3 separate regions of the Homo sapiens genome follow, and all the other regions are linked to region 2. The links are contacts of gene promoters, found by promoter capture Hi-C in blood cells and fetal thymus (Javierre and others, 2016). All regions are on one chromosome and are shown on one strand. The core of a region is centred on a gene start or on the middle of the fragment in contact, and the rest is flanking DNA. Distances in the headings are between cores, read along the strand shown. Region 1 overlaps OXCT1 (3-oxoacid CoA-transferase 1). Region 2 holds the start of HMGCS1 (3-hydroxy-3-methylglutaryl-CoA synthase 1). Region 3 overlaps OXCT1 (3-oxoacid CoA-transferase 1).

Region 1 (3,082 bases), core at 293-2,792, 1.5 Mb after region 2:
GCTTTGTTTTATTTCCCTTTTAAAAAGAATAACACACACTTCTCTGAAAGAACATTGTTACCCCCTTTACAAATTGTTTATTTTTTGGGCTTAATATAGGTTTTGGGCTATGTGGAATTCCAGAGAATCTTATAGATGCTTTACTGAAAACTGGAGTAAAAGGACTAACTGCAGTCAGCAACAATGCAGGGTAAGTGTGCATTTTAAAAACAATTGGCTGGAGAGAAATGCCAATTCTTAATATTTAAACAGAGTTTATCAATGAAATGAAGTTTTCTCCTATTCACATGAGCAATATGTCCAAGCATCAAAATCTAGTGTTTAACAAGGTCAAGAGGGGTGGTTACATTTATCCAAATGTTTTTGGTACCATCCTTCATAAGTAAAGCAGACTTGCTTCATCTAGTATAAAGATATAAATTAAGACTTTATATCTTAATGTGATGTGCTTTTATTTTTCTAAACTTAAAATGTATTGAAGTTAGAATATATATCTTCAAATTAAGTCTTGCATTTTAAAATTTAAATGTATTGTTTTATGTTATTTATTAGATCATTTATAAAGCAAGGTGGGCATCAATTTGAAATCTGTTTAAAGCCCTTTCTTTTAGCAATGCCATCATTCTAGATCATAAATAAAGGGATACCATTAATCACAAAAACATGGCTGGTCTTGGAAGGTGGATATGCAGCCAGCACTTAAGATAATAGGATTGCATATTATAGTGGTCAGAAATAAGCCATCATTTTAATAATAGCATGCACATTAAGGTACATTTAGCTATGTTAGGAAAAGCCATATTTTTATTTTTACAAAATGGTAAGTCATCAGCTCTCAACAATTAAAGACTTTAAGGATTTTACATTTTTAATCACCCAATTGGCATTTTAGCCAATTATAAAAGCAGTTTAGAATAAATAGTGTAGGTTATTTGGGAAGTAAAACTGATGCTACTTTTTTGTGCCCATTTTTCCTTTTCTGAGTCTGTTTCCTTCTGGGAGACTGTCCCTCCTCTTTCCTGTCTATCCACATCTCTCAGGATTAGACTTAAGTTGTATATCCTCAAAGTATCCTTATCCAATTATAGAAACTTTTCTAGTCTTTATTGATCTTGCCCCTTTTTGAGTTCCTTTAGAGACTTTTAGCCTTTCTTTGTGTGCTGAATTTTACTTATCTTTGATATATATGTATATTACATTACCAATCTCCTTTATTTACAGTAGTTATGTATTCCCTACTGTCCTGAGCCTGTAAGTCTGAGTCTCAGAGTTACTGTGTGTTGGAGGGGAATGGGATTGTAGAAATCATCTGTCCCTTGTTTAACTGACTTTTCAGATCGTCTGAAAATAGAGAAGTAACTTGTTTAAGACAACTCGATAACTCTTAAACATATCTTATGCCCTTTAATTTGACTTGATTATACATACTTTTGATTATCAGCACTTTCAGTTTTCCAGATAGCTTTATGCTTATAAGGGATACTACAGATCAATATAAAATTCTTGATGCAGAATAGATGCTGTTATGACAAAGGCTGAGAAATCTGATTATACATATGTACCTACACCTATAATTACTTGTGTGTGTGTGTGTGTATATATATATATATATATTACATATATATATATATATATATATTACTATACTAGTCAGGTATAATAGTTTTTTGAGAGCCCAATGGTCAGTCTATCACTCTAAAATGTCTGGTTGTGTACCAATGACTTTGAACCTCAAGATAAAGGCAGTGACCCCTCTGCTGTGCCCTTGTTCTTTGTTGAGGAAGCTGCAGCTCTGAAGGAGTTAATAATCAGATGTAGGCCATGAGCTGATTATGGACATTCCCTAGGATTTAGTTATTTTGTCTGGGAAGGGCTAACCAATTCCTGGGATGTATACTTGAACTTCTGTGCTCAGCTCATGAAAGATTTCATTTGTCTCATGTAACTACAGAAGTCCTCCCTTATTCGAGGGGCCTGTGTTCTGAAATCATGGCTAATACTCAACCCAATTGCTGTCAATGGGAATGTATTTCTGTTTGTCTTCCACCCACAAATTTAATGTCTTTTCCATCTTAACTAAGCTCTTATTATGCTCTGTGGCTATAACTTTTGCAGTTTGAGATATGACAGCAAAACTAGCAGATATTTTTCTCTTTCTTTGAAATTTAATGGATAAAAGATTCATTCTTACTTAGATCTTTCACTTAAAGGAAGCACTTTATGACCTCTTTCTGGCATATCCAAGTTGCCTGCACCACTACTCTTGTGTTTTGGGGCCATTATTAAGTAAGATAAGGACTACTTGAACACAAGCACAGCAAAGACTGCAGCAATCTATCTGATCACCATCATGGCTACTAAGTGAAGAACAGGAGAGTAGTATATACAGTGTAGATGTGCTGGACAAAGGGAGGATTCACACCCCGGGCAGGATGGAGTAGGATGATGATAGCTCATCTCGTTACTCAGAATGGTGCAAAACTTAAAACTTATGAATTTTATATGTCTGGAATTTTCCATTTAATATTTGTGGACTGCAGTTGACTGGGTAATTGAAACCACATAGAAAATGAAACTGCAGATTGGGTGGGGGATGGGGAAATTACTGTATGTCATAAATTAGCCTTATATTTAAATGAAGCATTTTGTTTTTGGTACTCTTGATATATTAAATATAATTATCTAATCCAGATTTAAGTATGTCTAAAATGAAAAGTAAACAAAAGAAATACAACTTGGTAAGTGATCCCAACTTTATTTTTGTTTATCTTATTTTGACAAGAATTGCCAATTAATGAGATTTCAGAAAATCAGCAAATTAAATTTCAGATTCAGAGCATGGAAATATTTCCAGAACATTGTCTCTGATGCGGTATCTTTTTGCTTTATAATAATGTGTCTCATTAATGAATTCTTGGCCTTAGACTTTTTCTAGTCACCAAAATGTTTGAAACCCAGGTTTGTTATGATGCAGGAAAAAGATCACATCTCTCTTTAGTATGCTAAAAAATGTTGGCTACTAAAGGAAAGCACCCATCTTTTTGAAGGTCTTATCAGCATTGTCTTTAGTATTAAAGAGCTA
Region 2 (3,168 bases), core at 226-2,725:
TGATCATAATCAGGCAATGTCTCTCTCTCTGTTTACTATCTAGTTACTTTACATACATATGAAGTGAGTCATGGGCAATACTGTGGAATGGAAATCATTACTGAGTGGTCCTCTTCCCCCAAGTCATTTATGCCACCACTTCACAGTGGTTCCATTTCCAATATATTTTGCCACTTTGCTGCTGAGAATGTGTCTTACTAGGTTAGCATCTATAGTGGTTAAAAGAATCTCCCATAACAATAATTGTGTGAATCACAGAATTACCAATGACCCCTTATCAATAGCATTCCTGTTAATTAAATTGAGATGGGGAGAGATACAAACAACTCCGAACCTCACTCATGGTCCCCCACCAAAGCTAAGTATTATGGCTTCTCTCTCTGACCAGATAGAGGCAGAGTTTATTGCAAAGCCACAAGTGTCCTCCTTTGGATTCCCCCAAATAGTGTTTCAGTGAATTCCTCTAGCTTGAATTGCTCCTCTCTATTTGCTGGGGGAGTTAGGCAGTCCGTATCCGATGGATTTACTATGCCGACAATTACGTGGCCTTTCCACAGCCTTTTACTTGGCAGGTACCACATATGAAGCTTAGAAGATACAGTGGGCAACAGGCCAAATGGAGTCCCTTTCCTCAGAGTGCATGGCCTGGCAAAAATCCTTGAATTCAGTATCAACTTCCCTTCACAGGCAAGGCTCTGCACCCTCCCCACGGATGCCTAATCCTGAAACCATTTTGTTTTAGGTTTAGTTAGAAAGCTTTGTCTCAAGAGCACTTTTGTTTGTTCTGTTTTCTTTAAGTCAAGGTAGTTTTGAATAAAGGAGACAATATTTGAGTATTTACAAATCGGGTATTTAGACTATTTACACATATACAAGTTCTGGGTGAAGTATTCTGCTCCAATTTGCAATCTACGCACACTTTGCTAGAAAACGTTAAGACTGAATTCAAATCAAGTACAGTATTTCAGAAATCTTTCAGGTGAAGCCTAGTTCTGGTTGCTAGGCAACCTGACAGACTCCCAAGCTGGGACCACCTCGCCTCCCACATTTGACCATCTCTCCAGCGGTGGGACGCGGAGTACCCATTGGCCCGCATCTCCTCTCACTTAGTCCCAATTGGTCGGAGAACCTCTCACTCCGCTCCCGTTGGCTCTCGCCGTATCTCGCAGCTCCGTCATTGGCAACTGGGCTCTCGTGCCACCTCACGTCAGTCTCTCACACCACTTCCTCGGCCCTGAGACTTTGTCCCCGCCTCTTCTCCCCGCCCTTCCAGCCACGAGGGAAAATCCTAGCGAGTCATCGCCTCTAGTTTCCTTTTGATTGGTAGAAGCCGGACTGGGGGGCGGGCGCTGCCGGGCAACTCTACCGGCCGCGATTGGCTGTGGGAGCCACCGTCCCGCCTCCCAGCGACTCTCGGCGGTGCCGGAGTCGGGTGGGTTGGCGGCTATAAAGCTGGTGGCGAAGGGGAGGCGCCGCGGACTGTCCTTTCGTGGCTCACTCCCTTTCCTCTGCTGCCGCTCGGTCACGCTTGGTGAGTGTCCCGCGCTGGGGAGTAGAACTGGGCTGCGGAGGTGCCGCGGGCGGGGTGTGGGCCAGACAGAGGCGGTGTCCTTGACTAGGCCCGAAGGAGCTGGGGCTCTGGGTCAGGACGTAGGCGTGGACTTTGCCCGGGAGGATGGGGCACCGTGAGCGGGGCCGGGCGGGGGTTCCCTCGTGAGGGACCTGAGGCCGACCGTAGCGGATCTGAGAAGATCCGAGAACACAGGCGAGTCGCGGAGGGGAGAACGCGAGAGGGCGTTGAGGTCTAGGTATTCTAACGACAGAGGAGTTGGAGGTGCCAGAGAGGCAGCTGTGACCGCCTAGAGGTGAGTGGGGGGTGTCAGGAGGGGGAGAGAAGACAGTTGGGCTACCAAGGCGTTTCCAGAGCGTTGGTTAAGGGTGGACGCCAAAGGATGGGCAAGATCCTCTTTAGACGGAGGCTGGTAGGTTCGCAGGGGGTGTGTCCTGCTGCCACATATAGAGTTGATGGAAAGAAGGGAAGTGGGTAGCATTACTTTTCTTCCTCAGCTCAGGTGCAAGAAAGCGTTCACAACCGTGATTTAGACCTGGCTAAGTACTGGGGCTCAGTCTGTACTTGCTTCAAATCTCATAGATCACTGCCTCCCGCCTTCCTGCCTCCATATTTTTTTTTGTCTACGTTTTAAAAAATAGGCTTCCTTGGTGTTCTGAAATCCCACATCTCTCTCCTACTAATACCTTCGGGACCAGCTTTAGGTGATACAGTGTAATGGGCAGGCACTCACAGAGTCCTCCCACAAATAGGTTTTGGATTAAGCTAAGGATATTTCAAAGCAAGTATATGGAGTCTTTGAAAACCCACGTCTGGCCTTGACCAGTGGTAGAGAAACGATTATTCTGATCCACTCTGGAGGAGGGATTTGGGGAACAAATAATGTGAGGTTGTGCCTGTTTGTCATGCTTGTCCCTATGGCCTTAGCCTTAAGGCATCAGTAGCTGCTTTCACTGCTCACCTCTGCTGCAGCTCCCCACCTTCCCGAGGATGCTCTTGCCACCTGCTGCAGTAGGATGATGTGTTCTGGTTGCTGCTAACTAACATTTGCTCTGTTTTAGGCATGAATATGAAAAACAATGACAAGATAAACAACAAAATTAAGACAAATGGAAGTGCTCCTAGAGTTAACAGATTTTTCCTTCTGAGATGTGTTTTGGACTTTATTGCACAGATACTATTAGATGAGAGGCAGTTGAAAGTCGTTAACATTATCCGTGTCAGTAGTTCTTTGCACTTGAGACACCTAAGCAGCTTGTGTTCTTTAAACTTTATTTTAAAATTGCAGTTATTTTTGTGTGAAGAAGGGGGCAGGGATAGCATACCTTATGGGAAGAGAGAAAGGCTTTCTTTGTGTCTACCTTTGTAGATATTTCTCACCTAAGTTTGTAAGTTTGCCCTTTATTCGGTTCTACTTTAGTTCAGCTCAATTCTAGTATAATCATCAGTAACCCCAGCACTCAGAAGGTCTGACTTACGCTGTGGGGAGGGAGTGTAAAAGGATATTTTATGTTTGGAGCCATAGGCCACATCATTTGGGCCTTGTTTTAATTTTGTTTTTCATCTTAAATATCCCTCCAGATTGCTTTTACATCTTG
Region 3 (3,198 bases), core at 581-3,080, 1.5 Mb after region 2:
ATGAAAATCTCATTAGATTCAAGAAAGAACCAAAAAGTGAGGAAGTGGTGACTACGAAATGTAGAATTCTTTCAAGTGAGTATAATAGCTAGTTTGACAAAACCAACTCCTTCCCCATTTTTAAATTTCAGTAAAACTAACACTCAGCAACAGCTGGTATGTAGACACATCAGAAAATTATGTAACTAGAATATAAAAGAAGCCTATTTATTGACTTTGCCTTGCATTTGCATATATTTACCCCAGTTTTCTAGATCTGTATGTAAAACACTCAACTATCATTGTTGGTATTTACAGTGATTTTTGAAATACATAAGCCGTTCCAAAATAACTTTGTATATTGATATGTGGCTCAGAAATATCTTTCATATAATTTATCTTAGTTCCTATAGTAAGATCCTCATTCATCAGTTATTCCCTAAGTGCATTAATCTTTTTTCTAGCAGGCAACTTGGTTAATGTCTTTAAAGTAGCCTTTATTTAAGAAAGGTTTTGTTTCAAACCATAGTTGAAATAAATGTACCAAAATTTTCTATTTTCTATAGCAGCTTTTTGTAAAACGCACTTAGTCTGTTTTTCCACTAGGGGGTGCGGTAGGGATGAGAATGGAGTTCTACATTCACATGGCTCCATTTTGTGCAGTGATGGAGTGTGGCAATGGATGCTTGTTTTAATTCCCGGAAATAAACCGTCAAGAATAAAAGAACATGATGGCAAGACAGTTTTGCTTTATGTTCTTCCCTCCAAAATTGGTAGTATAATTAAAAGGCAATAAACATAAATAAAAATCAATAGCATTCCCTAGATCAGTAATGTCAGAAGAGTAGATAGGAGCAAATGTAACATTCACAGTAGCAAGAGAAACCACTAAGTACCTATAAATAAACCTAAGAAAAAAAATAAAGCTTTTATGGAGAAAATAATAAAACTATTGAAGGAGGTCGAAGAAAACCTCAGTAAATGGAGACATATACTATGCTCATGGGTGGGAAGATAGGGCTTGTTGGTTTTCTCCAAATTTACTGATTCTGTGAATCCCATTTAAAATCTCAACAGGTGATATAGGTTATTGAGGATAGCTGAATGATAGATTTTTGTAACTATTTTATGTAGGAAAACAATACATAGACCATTTTATGCAAACTGTTTTTTCAGGGGAGAGGGAAAGAAGGACTATTTTTCACATTCAATATACAACCTGTACATACAAATAGTAAAATGAAAATAGTCTATCCCTCAGGCCATAGAACTTTCAGTTCCTCAAATGCACAAATTTTCTTTTGTCACTGGACCTTTGCTTGTCTGTTTCCTTAGCTCCCCTTAGACCACTTTGACTAAGTCCTGCTTGCCTAACACTGCTTATCTTTGAAGTCTCTGGGATGCTTTTCCCTCTGAGAAATTTTCCCTCAGTAGGCTTGTATCCTTATTATCTACCTCTATCAGAGTGCCTCTATCACAATCAAGACCTATGCAAATACCTGATGATGCCTTCTCCCTCTTCTGCAGGTGAGGGAGTTCAATGGTCAGCACTTTATTTTGGAGGAAGCAATTACAGGGGATTTTGCTTTGGTGAAAGCCTGGAAGGCGGACCGAGCAGGAAACGTGATTTTCAGGTATTGTGATAGTTTTAAAAACACTCGTGCATATCAGCAACTCTAAAAATGGACATCAGAGTGAATTTGGAATTTAAAAATGTATTTTCGTAATGGCCCAAAATCATACATGCCCATGTGTATTGCACATATATAGGTGTGTGCAGGGCTGCTGGTATGTCCACTTGTGGGAGTCTGTTTAGACTGGTCGATATCTATGTTGCACTGCTTGTTAAATATTTGGATCTATATGCCCTTTTATATAGGCACATGCAGTTGTTTTTCTCCTTGTGTATTTTAGTTGCCAAGACCAGTTACATGCTTAGAAAATGTGACATCATACAATTTTATTTAATTGATATTGTAATTTACATGTATTGTCTTAAAATGTCAAAGCTAATTTGATACTCTGGAAAGATACTGCTAATAATCATTGGGGTCAGTCCTTCAGTCCTTTTGGTGTCTTCTAGGAAATGCTTACAAAGGTTCTATCTGAAAAATTGATTAACCTTTATAATACTGAATTTTCAATCCTCTCAGCCACAGACTTTATAGATTTTAAAATCTTTTGGTTATTCTAAGCATACTAAGTATTTATATCTTGGATTTATAGATTTATATAGTTGTTTTTTGAGGAATATGAAACCTTTGAGTGTACACTTAAGAGTTTTCCAAACTGATCTTGAAGACTTTACCTATCAGATTACAGAAATCATTGTTTTTGCTTATTTATCATTTGCTGCTTTCGATTAACAATTTTTAAATCTTTAGCAAATGCAGCTTTGGTGCAATTACAGTTAAGTTCTCAGTGATACTCTCATATCACTTTTTATTTCTGAAGGACTTATGTGATATTAATGCTCTTTGATTTCTTTAATTTAGCCAGTTTTTTAAAGTACAACTAATTTTGGCAATAACAGGAGTAATTTTACATCATCTTTACCTTATTTGACACGTTTGTGTAATATTTACACGTTTAGTTGCTTTTTAAAAAAGATTAACAAAATTGTATACTACCAAACAGAAAGGAATTATTGAAAATATTCCCATGTTTATTCTGCGCTGCAGTGCCTGGCTCTGGTATTTGAAGGCTGCACAAGGGCTATTCTGGGCACTGACTTTATGCTGGTGGTTAATGAGTTCGGGTGTGAAATGAAAGCTTGCATCACCAATGGTCAAGTGACCTTAGGATTAACTTCATATTTAGTGGGACAGCTGGAACAGAAGTCTGTCTAGGTTATTCAAGTGGGGGACTTGGGACTCCTTTGCCTCTGACCATTCTGCCCTTGGAGCTTTTGATGCCTGGATGTCTGGTGGGATCTAACCCAGCAACTTGTGAAAGTTCACGAGGGCTCCTTTCTCAAGGATGCTCCTATTCCTGTACTCATTCTTCAATCTGAGCAAAAGAAATATTGGTGGCTCAAAAGAGCTAGTAAAACATAGCTGTGACTTACTTCCTTTTACCAAAGAAATTCTGCCATCAACGTATATTCCCAGAGACAAAAAATATGTTTTAATTTTTACCATTAGGGGAACTGTATTGAGGAACATCAGAGTGCAAAACCATCGGCAAAATTGGCACCTGCTAGAAATTTTTACACCTCGG

What was found. Contacts are between HindIII fragments. The CHiCAGO score rates a contact against its expected background, and 5 or more counts as called.
Region 1: a fragment that was not itself captured here is called in contact with the fragment with the promoter of HMGCS1 in region 2 in 5 of 17 cell types (naive CD8 T cells, activated CD4 T cells, non-activated CD4 T cells and 2 more); the score reaches 7.8 in naive CD8 T cells.
Region 3: a fragment that was not itself captured here is called in contact with the fragment with the promoter of HMGCS1 in region 2 in 4 of 17 cell types (total CD4 T cells, fetal thymus, monocytes and 1 more); the score reaches 8.7 in total CD4 T cells.

Annotation. Positions count from the first base shown.
Region 1 is chr5:41,858,422-41,861,503 of GRCh38, reverse strand. OXCT1 (3-oxoacid CoA-transferase 1) reads left to right here. Exons shown (of 17, transcript NM_000436.4): 3 at 100-190. Among named protein-coding and RNA genes, the nearest start is that of OXCT1-AS1, 10 kb to the left of the region's middle. The HindIII fragment of the contact is 4,650 bases long and covers 1-3,082 here.
Region 2 is chr5:43,311,719-43,314,886 of GRCh38, reverse strand. It overlaps HMGCS1 (3-hydroxy-3-methylglutaryl-CoA synthase 1), which reads left to right and starts at 1,475. Exons shown (of 11, transcript NM_001098272.3): 1 at 1,475-1,531. RefSeq lists enhancers at 48-562, 563-1,079, 1,086-1,315, 1,566-1,705. The HindIII fragment of the contact is 3,835 bases long and covers 759-3,168 here.
Region 3 is chr5:41,841,090-41,844,287 of GRCh38, reverse strand. OXCT1 (3-oxoacid CoA-transferase 1) reads left to right here. Exons shown (of 17, transcript NM_000436.4): 6 at 1,507-1,613. Among named protein-coding and RNA genes, the nearest start is that of OXCT1-AS1, 27 kb to the left of the region's middle. The HindIII fragment of the contact is 1,846 bases long and covers 908-2,753 here.